Regions from separate parts of the Homo sapiens genome. Here regions 1 and 2 are each linked to region 3. Evidence: promoter capture Hi-C in human tissues and cell types (Jung and others, 2019). All regions are on one chromosome and are shown on one strand. Each heading gives the region's core, a stretch centred on a gene start or on the middle of the fragment in contact. The rest is flanking DNA. Distances are from core to core; before and after follow the strand shown.

The links. The method cuts DNA at HindIII sites, captures the fragments that hold promoters and counts their contacts. A contact is called where the count stands out against the background at its distance.
Region 1: a contact is called between the fragment with the promoter of RBCK1 here and the fragment with the promoter of NRSN2 in region 3, in 9 of the 25 tissues and cell types used here (H1 embryonic stem cells, IMR-90 fibroblasts, heart left ventricle and 6 more).
Region 2: the fragment with the promoter of TRIB3 here is called in contact with the fragment with the promoter of NRSN2 in region 3 in 6 of the 25 tissues and cell types used here (IMR-90 fibroblasts, adrenal gland, lymphoblastoid cells and 3 more).

The regions. Positions count from the first base shown.
Region 1 is chr20:406,699-410,613 of GRCh38, reverse strand. It overlaps RBCK1 (RANBP2-type and C3HC4-type zinc finger containing 1), which reads right to left and starts at 2,315. Exons shown (of 12, transcript NM_031229.4): 1 at 1,835-2,315; 2 at 589-733. The coding sequence starts at 1,856. RefSeq lists enhancers at 1,338-1,407, 1,418-1,517, 1,578-1,677, 1,087-1,727, 1,728-1,777 and 1 more and a silencer at 2,348-2,617. The HindIII fragment of the contact is 18,382 bases long and covers 1-3,915 here.
Region 2 is chr20:379,348-383,068 of GRCh38, reverse strand. TRIB3 (tribbles pseudokinase 3) reads right to left here and starts at 2,309. Exons shown (of 4, transcript NM_021158.5): 1 at 1,900-2,309. RefSeq lists an enhancer at 192-1,190 and silencers at 876-1,465, 1,736-1,845, 1,866-2,025. The HindIII fragment of the contact is 14,566 bases long and covers 1-3,721 here.
Region 3 is chr20:344,557-348,360 of GRCh38, reverse strand. NRSN2 (neurensin 2) reads right to left here and starts at 1,250. Exons shown (of 5, transcript NM_001323682.2): 1 at 1,219-1,250; 2 at 849-927. LOC101929937 (serine/arginine repetitive matrix protein 2-like) reads left to right here. Exons shown (of 4, transcript XM_047440635.1): 2 at 1-261; 3 at 347-942; 4 at 1,370-2,095. The coding sequence ends at 1,693. RefSeq lists silencers at 143-232, 413-942, 963-1,382 and enhancers at 189-951, 952-1,714, 1,715-2,478. The HindIII fragment of the contact is 22,559 bases long and covers 1-3,804 here.

The sequences.
Region 1 (3,915 bases), core at 1,066-3,565, 61 kb before region 3:
GAATATCTTGGCTATACAGTCTCCCCTCAAGCTGAACTGTAGCTGTGGGAATCAGTTCTGGTCCACAGGAATTAACGGAAGAAGTGTGTACAATTTTTGAGCTATGCTCTTTAGAAGAGTGTGGAGGGGTGTCTTTCTTCCCTTCCTCCTGTGATGTGATGGCTGGATGGAGCTGGAATGGCCATTTTGCACCATGAGGAATCTGGGAATGAATGGCAGAATGGTGAGAGAAACAATATGAGCCTCTGAGGACTGTCGGGAGCAGAACCTCCCTATCTGGACTCCCTGCCATCAAATTTGTTTACGTCACTGTTCCGTTTTCTTCTGTTGTATAAGGCCTAACATCCTAATACAGTACACCTCCTAACAACCCTATGAGATAGCTACTGTTACGGTCTGATTTTTAAAATGAGGACACACTGAGAGGTGAAGTGACCTGCTCTGTATTTCACAGTTGATTAATGACATAACTAGGGTTAGAAGCCAGGCCTCCTGAAGCCAGAACGTGCCATTAGGAAGAACTGTTCTACAGGCAAGAATATCCTGTCCTGCTGTCCCTTGGGTTCAGGCCAGCCATGCACTCCTCACCTGATGTCCTGCGTTGGGGAGACCTCAGGCTTCAGTTGCACACTCAGGGGCACCCGTTGCTCTGCCAGCCAGATGGCACACTTCATTGCCACCTGTTCATCCCCGCCCGCCACTGCTCGGGTGAGGCTCAGGGCCATTTCCTCTGCTGAAAGCCAGTACAGCAGGAGCCAGTTAGCACAGGGTTTATTTTCAGGAGCTGAGAGTAATGGGGTAGGAAAGGAGGCGATCCTTTGTGTGTGCTGCTTTCTCTGTCTTCCTGGTGAACTCCTACGTATCCTTCAGCACCCAGACTAAAAGTCCCTTTCTCCGGGAGGGGTTCTCTAATATTCCCCACTCCTCCTCACACTAGGCTCATTTGGTTGTTTGTCCTTCCCATTCCCAGGGTCCCTCATATTTCTATTCATTTATCCAACAAGCAGTTATTGAGCTTCTACTGTGTGCCACCCACTGTCCCAGGAACTGGAATCCCACAGAGATTTATAAACAGGGCCCCTCTCCTTATGGATCTCCCTGCCCAGTGGGGAGACAATGAACAAGTTTAACAAGAAAAAAAAAAAAAGTCAGATTGCGATCCTTGCTGGCAGGGAAATAAACAGGTTAAGGAGACCAGGGGAGGCCTCTGGGAGGGGGTAACACTGAAGCTAAGACCTGAAGGAGGAGAAGCTGCACGTGTCAAGCTCCAGTGGGGAAGAGTGGTCCAGGTGGAAGGAAGAGTAAGGGCCTTGGCCAAAAAATGGTTGGATGAGAACCGAAGGAAGCCAGTGGGGCTCCAGTAGAGTGAGCATGGCGGGGTGACTGAGGACAGATATCCTGTGGGCCACCCAGGGCCTCTGGGTTTTGTTTGGAGAACACAGAGGGGCATGGGAGGGTTTCCAGCAAGGCAGTGACTGACTTCCGTTCTACAACCCTAGGTGCAGGGGACAAGAGAAGAGGCAAGTACCCCTGCTTCTCAGGTCAACTGACGTCTGTCTCCCACCAGCCCAGGAGGTCTCCAAGTTCAATGCCCTGTGTCCTCTGCGAGTCCCCTAGCCCCATCTCAGCACAGAGCCAGCCCAAGGAGTTCTCAGGGCCCCAAGATGGCTCTGGAAGCCAGCAGGTACCAAAGGAGGAAACTGATGGGGAGGAGGGTAGAGGGAGGGCAGGCTAAAGCCCCCTCTCCAAGGCCCTTCTGGCCAGGGGCAAGGCCAGGTCCTGCGGGGCCCACTTCCCACCGGAAGTTCCCCAGCCACCTCCAGCCTGTGCCCACCTTTCTTGGTCTTCTCGTCCATCTGGCGTGGCTGTGCCCATCCCCCTGGGGGGGACCGTGCCTCCTGGGAAATGCTACCTCCGGGTCGCCTGGGAGAGGCGGGAGACCAGGAGCAACTCAGCCAGGCCGTGTGGCCTCCGGCGCGGCCCAAGCCCTGTGTGTGCCTCGCTGTCCCCGCGGCAGTCGGGAAGCATCACACTGCCCGGTGACCAGGCCGGGATCCTGCGTGGGGCGGTGAGAGGGCAGCGGGCGCCGAGACAGGTCCGCACTGGGCGCAGGAGGAAACGGGACCAGCCGAGGTGGGAAGAAGCGGGGAAAGGACGCCCGGACACCACCCAGCCGGGGCGTTCCAAGTCCCGGAGGACCCCCACTTGCGGGAGCGCCCCTGGCGTCCCGGGTTTCAAGGCAAAGCCCTCTCTCCTCCCGGGAGGCCCCAGTTCTTCGCAAGGGGAGCGGCTTCGGCGGAAGAGAAAGTGAAAGTGGCGGCCCCGGAAGTGGGGCGGGACTGGGAGGGGGGGCCGGAAAAATTGTCGCCTCATCCGGGACCTCCACTGCCCGGCTACCCGGCGGCGGCGGACGCCGAGTGCGGGGTCCCAGCGGTCCCGGCGCTCCTGTTTGGGGCGACCCCACCCCGTCCTCCGGGGCTGATCGCGGGTCCCCGGACTCCCGCCCGGGTCACCCTGCGGGCCGCATCGCAGAGCCGCGGGAAGGAGCTGGGCCGCAGGCGGGGTGGGCGGGGCCGGGGCGGGGCCGGGGGCGGGGCCGGGGGGGCCGGGGGCTGGGGGCGGGGCCGGGGTGGGCCGGGGGCCGGGGCCGGGGCCGGGGGCGGGGCCGGGGGCAGGAGCAGGAGCCTGAGCAGGAGTCGGCGCCGGAGCCGGGGCTGGAGGGCGGCGGGATCCACAGCGTCGAGCCGCTGGGGACGGGTTAGGAGCGCGCCCTGCGAGCCCGGCGCCTGCTCACCCAAGCCTCAGGCATACCTCGGGGCAGGCCCGGTCCTTGGCCCCGTTTGCACATGAATAAACGAAGGCTCTGTTTGTTGATGACCTGTCCAAGGCCACTCAGCCGAGGTTTGAATCCAGGCCTGGCAGGCTCAGGAACCCGCCCTTACCCAGATCCGACGCTGCCTCTCAGCGGTCACCGTCTGTCTTTTCGTTGAGCTATTGGTGAAGTTTGCATTCGTCTGCCTCATGCGCCGCTTTAATTTTTCTCCCGTTCCTCGTCCCATCGATCAGCAGATCCTGCGGGCTCCACTTGCAGAATCTCATCCCTCACCTCCTCCGGCCCCATCCCGCTCCAGCTCCATCAGTGCTCCATCATCTCAGGGGTCTTGAACCAGCCTCCTCCTGGGCCTCCTTGCTTCTCTTTTTGCCCCCTACCGTCCATTTCCACCTAGCTGCCGGAGAGTCCTGTTAAAATGTAAATCAAACCCATGCCACTCCCCGACCCAAGTACTCCCATCTCACTTAAAGCAAAATCCGAGATCTGTCCCAGGGCTCGCAAATTGCCTCCCGATCTCTGTCTTCGTAGCTGACTGCCCTGCCCCTGCCTCATTCCACTCAAGTCCCATTGACCTGCTGGGTCCTGGAGTAAGTCAGACACACTCCCGCCCTAAGGCCTTTGCACCTGCCATAACCCAAACGTCTGCATGGCTCCCTCCTTCCCTTTATTTTGGTCTTTACCCAAAAATCTTCCCTAGTTACTCCATCTGAAATTTCACAGACACACGTATCCAGCATTTCACATCCGCTTTCCTGGCTTCATTTTTTCTTCTCAGCATCTATTACTGTCTAACGGAGCATGTTTTACTTATTTATGTTATTCTGGGTCTGTTTTCCTCTCCTAGAGGGCAGGGACTTTGGTTTGTTTTGCTCACTGCTGTGTTCCTGGTGTCTAGAACAGTTCCAAACACATAATGGAGGCTCCATATGTTGAATGAAGGAATGAACCTCAGACCTTCATCTGGGATAATTTTTCTTTTGCCGGAAACACATCCCTTTAGACAATGTTTCTTAACTTTGGCTGTACATTTGAATGGCCTGGGGAAGCCTTTTTTTTTTTTTTTTTTTTTTTTGAGATGGAGT
Region 2 (3,721 bases), core at 1,060-3,559, 34 kb before region 3:
TGCCCACCCACTTAAACTCCATTCCAAGGAGGTGCATGCCCAGGTATGGGCATTGGTGCGAGAGACCTCAGCCTGGTTAAAGACCTTCCCAACAGTTCAAGGCAGGATTAACAAGGCAACATGAGTCAGTTACCAGACAGAGGCCCACCTCTCCAAGTACGCTGCTCCCAAATGGAAGAGCTGCCTTGGAAGGGAAGGCCTCCCCACATGAGTGAAAGGTCATGACTTTGGCTTGGTAAGAATGCAGTAAGGAGTGGCTGTAGTCAGATATTCCTGGGTTCTAATCCTGTCTCAAACCCTTTCTAGCTGGGGGGTACCCCTGGTCAAGTTCCTCAAGCTTTCTGAGCCTCAGTTCCTGTAAAGTGGGAACAGGATGCAAAGCTTACAGGTTTTTCGTGATGATGAAATGAAAACACAAATGAAGCATGTAGAGCTTATGGACCTGTTGCCAGGTAGGTGTCAGGAAATGGTCATTATTAGCACTCATCCTGTTATTCTTCACAGCAAGATGCATAAGTACCATCCTTGGGAGTCTTAGAAAGCTCCCCAGGTTCGAGGCTGGGATGACACTCCTTACATCTCAAGGCTGTTCTGAGTCACGCAGGATGATACCTGGCTGTGCACATGCTTTGTGCCCTGTGCAGCAGGAGACTGCCTGGAGTCCCTCTGGCCTGTGCCACATCAGTAGTCCAGGCTGCCTTGGCCCCGGCCATCCCTCAGAGCCTGTTGGGGCCTGGGATAAGCTCCACCCAGATGGGGACAGATGCGGTAACTGAGTCTATACATCTTGGGCAAGGCATTTTGCAGACCACACTGCAGAATAGAATCTGTGATGTGGAATGAAAGCAGCCCCTAATATCTACCTCTTGCTGTTCCCTGCCACACTCGGGACCCAGGGAAATGAGGGCGGGTTACATCAAGCGCAAGCGCGCGCGCGCACGCACACACACACACACACACACACACACAGCCCTCCCAGCTGTCACACCCATGGTCTACCCGAGCAAGGCCGCACCCCCACCCCGCCCCGCCCCCCGCAGCCAGGCCCCTCCCGTGGGAGCCCAAGCGAAAGGCGGCGGGTGTCCGAGTCAGAAGTTTCAGCGGAAATTGAAGCGCGGCCCTGGGACAGGAGGGGGGTGAGGCAGAGGGAAGGAGGTGGCTGTCGTCCCCCGCCCTCCCCGGTCTGCAGGCACAGCACACACCGCAGACACGCGCGCACCGTCCACCTGCAAACCCGGAGCCGCGCACTGGGGAGAACCAGCGGCCCTGCCGGGCCAGAGATCGCGCGCTGCGCCCCCGCTCCCACTCCCTCGGCTCCCCCGCTCCAGGGCACCCCAGCCCTGTCCCGGCGGTGTCCCCTGCACCGCCAACCCCTGCCACCAAGTGCCCAGCCCTCCAGACAGCTCTCACCATCTCCTGAGACACAGGTGCTCGGGACCCACCCTCACCCAGGACTCTCCCCTGCGGGTTCACGAGGACCCCCTCGGATCCCCCGCCACCCCCAGAGTCCTCCAGTGCCCCCCACAAGCCCCTCACCGCACCACACGACTCCCCTATCCCGCACTCACGCAAAACAGACCCCCGCACGCCCTCCTCTAGGGGTGACGGCCGGACACCTCCGTCCCTGGCTTCCCCAGCCCAACTCGGGCGACCCCACGCTCCGCGGGGCCGCGTCACCTGAAGCCCGGGGGGAGCACTCAGCCCAGGCCCGGATCAAAAGGGATCTGACCTGGCCGCGCCCCGACGGCGGGGTCTGTGAAAAGGTGTGTAAGGGGCGTGCGTGCGTGTAACACGCGGCAACACGCAGACGCCCAGAGGCTTCCGGCGCCCCCTTCCCCGGCCGCCCCCTCCCGCCCCCCGGCCTCCGGGCGAGTCCGCAGGCCGCACCCCGCCGAGTACCTCGCCCCGTCGTTCCGCGTGGGCCCGGGCGCCGCCGGGGCTCAGAGCCTCCAGGGCACCAGCAGGTGGGCCGGCCCGCTGCGCTGCTGCCGAGCTCGGGATCCCAGCCCAGCTCCAGCCCTGCCCGGGTCCTAGCAGCGGACGCGCGCGGAGCCGCCTCCACTTCCGCTGCGAGTCTCGTGCGCGCCCGGCCCCCGGTCCGGGTGATGCAAACCGGAGCTAATCCCCCGGTCCGGGTGATGCAAACCGGAGCTAATCCCCCGGTCCGGGTGATGCAAACCGGAGCTAATCAGCCGCCGTCTGATGCCCTCGGGCCCGGGATCGCACCATCCCCCGCGCCGCGCCCGGGCCTCTCTCCTCTGCATCCGCTGCACCTGGGACCCGCCCTCGCTGGCCCCCTAGGGGCGTCTGGTCAGTGCAGACATCAGCCACGGACTCTCCCTATCACCTTGGAAAAAAAATTTGCTCTTTTTTTTTTTTTTTTTGAGACAGAGTCTTGCTCTGTCGCCCAGGCTGGAGGGCGGTGGCGCGATCTCGGCTCACTGCAAGCTCCGCCTCCCGGGTTCACGCCATTCTCCTGCCTCAGCCTCCCGAGTAGCTGGGACTACAGGCGCCCGCACCACGCCCGGCTAATTTTTTGTATTTTTAGTAGAGACGGGGTTTCACCTTGTTAGCCAGGATGGTCTCGATCTCCTGACCTCGTGATCCACCCGCCTCGGCCTCCCAAAGTGCTGGGATTACAGGCGTGAGCCACCGCGCCCGGCCAAAAATTTGCTCTTCTGAGCCTCGGTTTCCCCACCTATGAAATGGGAAGAACATTCCTCCTTCTCAGGATGGTGCTTAAAAGAGCAAACAGTGACTGTTGTCGGGGTGCTTCCCCTTTTTTATAAAGCACATTCCCAGCACTGCCTTATAAAACCTTTAGGAGAAGTGGACATGCGGGAATCTCCATTCTCCACATTCTACTGAGAGCCAGCCTGAGGCCCAGCTATGGGCAAGTGGTTCAGAAGCTTCAGGAAGGCCTATGGACTTAAGAGCTGACTCTGGGCTCAAAGGAACCACCGTGGCGCCCTTGGGAGGCCTAAGGTCTGCTGAGCTTCCCCGCGTCCCTTTGCTAGAGGCAGTGCGGCCTAGTGGTGAAGAGCCCCTAGAGCCAGCTGGCCTAAGAGTGCACTCCACCTCCGCTCCAACCCACAGTGCTACCCCAGAAAAGCTACCTAAAACCCTGCCTCAACTTCCTGCTCCATAAAATGGGCTCATAATTGCGCTCACTTCATAAAGTTGTTGTGAGGATTAAATAATTTAATATGTGTAAGACGCTTAGAACAGTGTGTGGCACATTGCGGATGCTCAGTGGAGTGTAAACAATGGAGACAGAGAGGGAAAGAGGCCTTTAATATGCTTGCACCCAAGGCCTGGGAGGGCTTGGTGCTACTTGATTTGGGGTGAAACACCCCTCTGCGTCCTAGGCGTCCAGCACCTTTCTTTTTTTTTCTTTTTTTGAGGCAGAGTTTCACTCGTTGCCCAGGATTGAGTGCGATGGCACGATCTCGGCTCACTGCAACCTCCACCTCCCGGGTTCAAGCGATTCTCCTGCCTCAGCCTCCCAAGTAGCTGGGATTACAGGCATGCGCTACTATGCCTGGCTAATTTTGTATTTTTAGTAGAGACAGGGTTTCTCCATGTTGGTCAGGCTGGTCTCGAACTCCTGACCTCAGATAATCCACCTGCCTCGGCCTCCCAAAGTGCTGAGATTACAGGCATGAGCCACCGCGCCCGGCCTGGGTCCAGCACCTTTCTTAGAAATCCCTTTTGATCTGAA
Region 3 (3,804 bases), core at 1-2,500:
GAGGAAAAACAACAACAACAAAAGCCACGACAGAGAACGGGAAAAGGCAGAGACTGAAAGCGAAGGACCGTCGGAGGAGGAGGGCGAGAGGTCTGGAGAGGAGGGCTCGCCGGAGGAGGCGGGCGGGGCGGGCTGTGCGGAGGGTGCGGCCAGCGCGGTACCCGCCCCGGCGAGGCGCTGGGGAGGCCCGGGTGGGGAGAAGAAATGGGGCCTGGGGGACGGTAGGAGCCTCCGTGCGGAGACCACTGTTCAAGGCCACAGGTGAGGAGGTGTGGAGGGGGCTTCGGGGCTGTTGACCTGGGTCAGCTCCTCCCCTCCAATTCACCGCTTCCGCGACTCCAAATAGATGGAATCACTCAGTCCTGCTGCTACTGGAGAGGGAAGGTGACCTTGACGCTGCCTCCCGCTCGGCCTGGCCCCTCCGCCTGGCGTTTCAGGGCTGCACGGAGTAGGTCTGGCGGGCGGGGGGCGGGGCGCAGGCACCCGGGACGAGGGTTGCCATGGGAACCGCTAGGGAGGCGTCCCCAGCCCGGGAGCCGGGAGGAGCTCGGTGGGAGGGGAGCGGGAGGCGGAGGGGGCTGCGCTGTCCGACGTGGGGAGACTGCGGCGGAGGGAGGAGGCGAGGGGCGGCAGGCACGGGCGGAAGTGACGGAAGCCAGGGCCCGAAGATGGACGGAATCTGTCGCCTCTGCACAGCCTCATTCAGTTGTGTCCTTCCCAGACCCTCAGACTCGCCCACTACAGCGTCCAGCGCTGCCCGGGCGGGGGAGAAGGGGCGCCCTCCCGGGGGGGATGGGTAGGGGGTGTCGGCCGGGGAAATCAGGCCATTTCCCGCCTCCCTTCCCCACCGGCACCCGCGCCACTCTTCCTGACAGGACCACCGATGCCCTGCTCCACACCAACTGCGTCCTTTTCCCTAGAGAGAAACTGAGGCAGAGAGGGGTAGGAATGGGTTTTTGAAGTGTTGGCGGGGGTGGGGGTGTCCTTTGAAGCCTCTACCCAGCCTATCAACCCTGAGGCGTCGAGGGGCGATGGGGCTGTTTCTGTCTCCCGCCCCTGCTGCTTCCCTGGGACCCCCACCTCCCAAAGCCGAGGCTCAGGCGCAAAGGTCCCGGCCCTGGCGGGACACGGCCCGGGCTGAGGATGCGGGCAGAGCGCGGGGGTTCTCCAGGGGCTGGGGCTGGGGCCTGGCCGCGCGTGGGGCAGGGCTAAGCTCACCTCTCTGCCTGCTGTCTCCGCCGAGCAAAGGCGGGTCCGGTTCGCGCCTGCGCCGCAGTTCGGGGCGGGGGAGGGGGCGCCGGCCCGCCTCAGGGCCTGGCTCTGCAGACGGCGGCCGCCTGCAGCTCCCCCGGCTCCTGTCCCCTTCCAGAGTTCCCTGCTCGCTCGGACACCCCAGCGCCCTCACAGAGACCCCTCGGACTCCCTGGGCCCCAGCCCCTCACGCAGCCCCTCAGACTCCTCACCGAAGCTGCCGTCACTCCCGCAGTTCCCCACCCCTCCCGTGGAAGACCCATCCCTTAACCGAGCCTTCCTCTCCTCGCTGCACCGTCAGTCCCTTTTCCAGGTCTCCATCCCCCTCATGGAGCCCCACCCCAGCGTAGAAACCGCTTCTCCTCGCCGGGCCCCCGCCCTCTTCACAGGCTCCCATCTGTCTCCGGGCTCCTACCGGGAAGTCCCCTCCCACTTGCCTTGAGAGCCGCTAATCCCTCTGGAGTCCTCACATCTCACTCAGTCCCCATCCTCTTTTCATCCTCTTTTCCTCTTTGAGTCCCTACCCATCCCTGGTACGGGATCAGCCCTTGTACCTTGAGAAGGGAGTTTGGGTGGAGGACTCGGGGTTGGGAGAGAAGTGACCTCCACTTTGGAAGGAGCTAATGACAGCCTCCCTTGTTGTTTCCTCCCCTAGCCCCAGTTCTGCCCTGGGCAATGCGTGCCCACTGCCCATCTCCCTGGAGAGCCAGCCTGTGCCAGGCAGCTGCATCTGCCTCCCACCCTGTCATGAGCTGTCAGCCTTGATTTTGTCCCACATTTGCTGTGTGATCTTGGGAAAGTCATTGTGCCCCTCCAACCGTCATCAAGCACCCTTGCACAGACATGCCTTTGTGTCTTGAGCATCTATTCTGTTTCTCCTTGTGCTAGGGGCTGGGGACACACAGAAGAATGAGCTCGGCAAGATAGGGCCACATCTTCCTTTTTAGTTTTTCTTTTTCTTTTTTTTTAATTTTTATTTTTTTGAGACAGCGTCTCACTCTGTTGTCCAGGCTGGAGTGCGGTGGCATGATCACGGCTCACTGCAGCCTCGATCTCCCAAGGCTCAGGTGATCCTCCCACCTCAGTCGCCTGAGGAGCTGGGACTACAGGCACGCACTACCATGCCTAGCTAATTTTTTGTATTTTTAATAGAGACAGGGTTTTGCCATGATGCCCAGGCTGGTCTTGAACTCCTGAGCTCAAGTGATCCACCTGCCTCGGCCTCCCAAAGTGCTGGGATTGTAAGCGTGAGCCACCGCGTCTGGCCAAGGCCACATATTTCTTGTTCGTGTTGTATCTGTGAGCCTCCCATAGTGCTTGGCACTGAGTAGGCAGCCCAGTAAATATTTACTGAAGACAGTCTAATAATAGTAGCAAACTTATTATGCTCACTATGTGCAAAGTGTTTAAGCGTTTTGTATGTTCTATTTACTTACTCATTTAAGTGTGTGTGTGTGTGTGTATGTGTGTGTGTGTGATGGGAGGAACTCTTGCAGCTCAAAACTAAAGGCCCCAAATGGTGACAGGAGATGGCATTGGAGAGGCAGGCAGAAGTGAGACCTTGTGGGGCCTCATAAGCCAAGGTAAGGAGTTTGAGCTTCAGCCCAAGGGTAGTGGGGAGCCATGGAAGGGTTATGAAGAGGGGTGGGATGTGATCTGATTTTCATTCTGAAAAGACCTCTGGCTGCTGTCAAGAGAACAGCATGTTGAGCACAAGAGTGACAGCAAGAGATCAGCAAAGAGATCAGAGATGACAGTGTCTTGGCCTGGTGCAGAGAAATGAAGACATTCAAGAGATGTTAGCCTGTAAAATGAACTACAGGAATAGCTACAGATTGGAAACAACCTGTGGTGGTTTTAAAATATAGCTACAAATTCTTTAGCACTCCTCTGTAGAGAGGTGGGATCCTTGTACCCTCTCTGAATCTTGGGTGAGCTGATGACTGCTTCAACCAATGGAGTACGGTGGAAGTAACACTCTGACTTCTAAGGTCCAGACATAAAAGTACAGGCAACTTCTGCTAGAACTCTAGCTCTTGGAGCCTGAGGCACCATGCCTACCTAGGGCTCCATGTCTGCTTAGAGGCTGCCATGCTGTCAGGATGCCAAGACCATCAGGAGAGGACACATGAAGGCACCACAGTCCCAGCTAAGCTTAGCTTTGAGTCATCCCAGTTCAAGCATAAAAGAAGTGAGTGAAGAAGAACCAGATGAGGCCAGGCACGGTGGCTCACACCTGTAATCCCAGCACTTTGGGAGGCCAAGGCGGGTGGATACCCTGAGTTCAGGAGTTCGAGACCAGCCTGGCCACATGGCAAAACCCCGTCTCTACTAAAAATACAAAAATAGCCGGGCATGGTGGCGTGCACCTGTAATCCCAGCTACTAGGGAGGATGAGGCAGGAGAATTGCTTGAACCCGGGAGGCAGAGGTTGCAGTGAGCCGACATCATGCCATTGCACTGTAGAAGGCGAAGGGGAAGGGGAAGAACAAGATGATTCCAGTGGCCAGCCATTTGAATCAGCTTCAGCCTTCAAATCTTCAAATCTTCCTA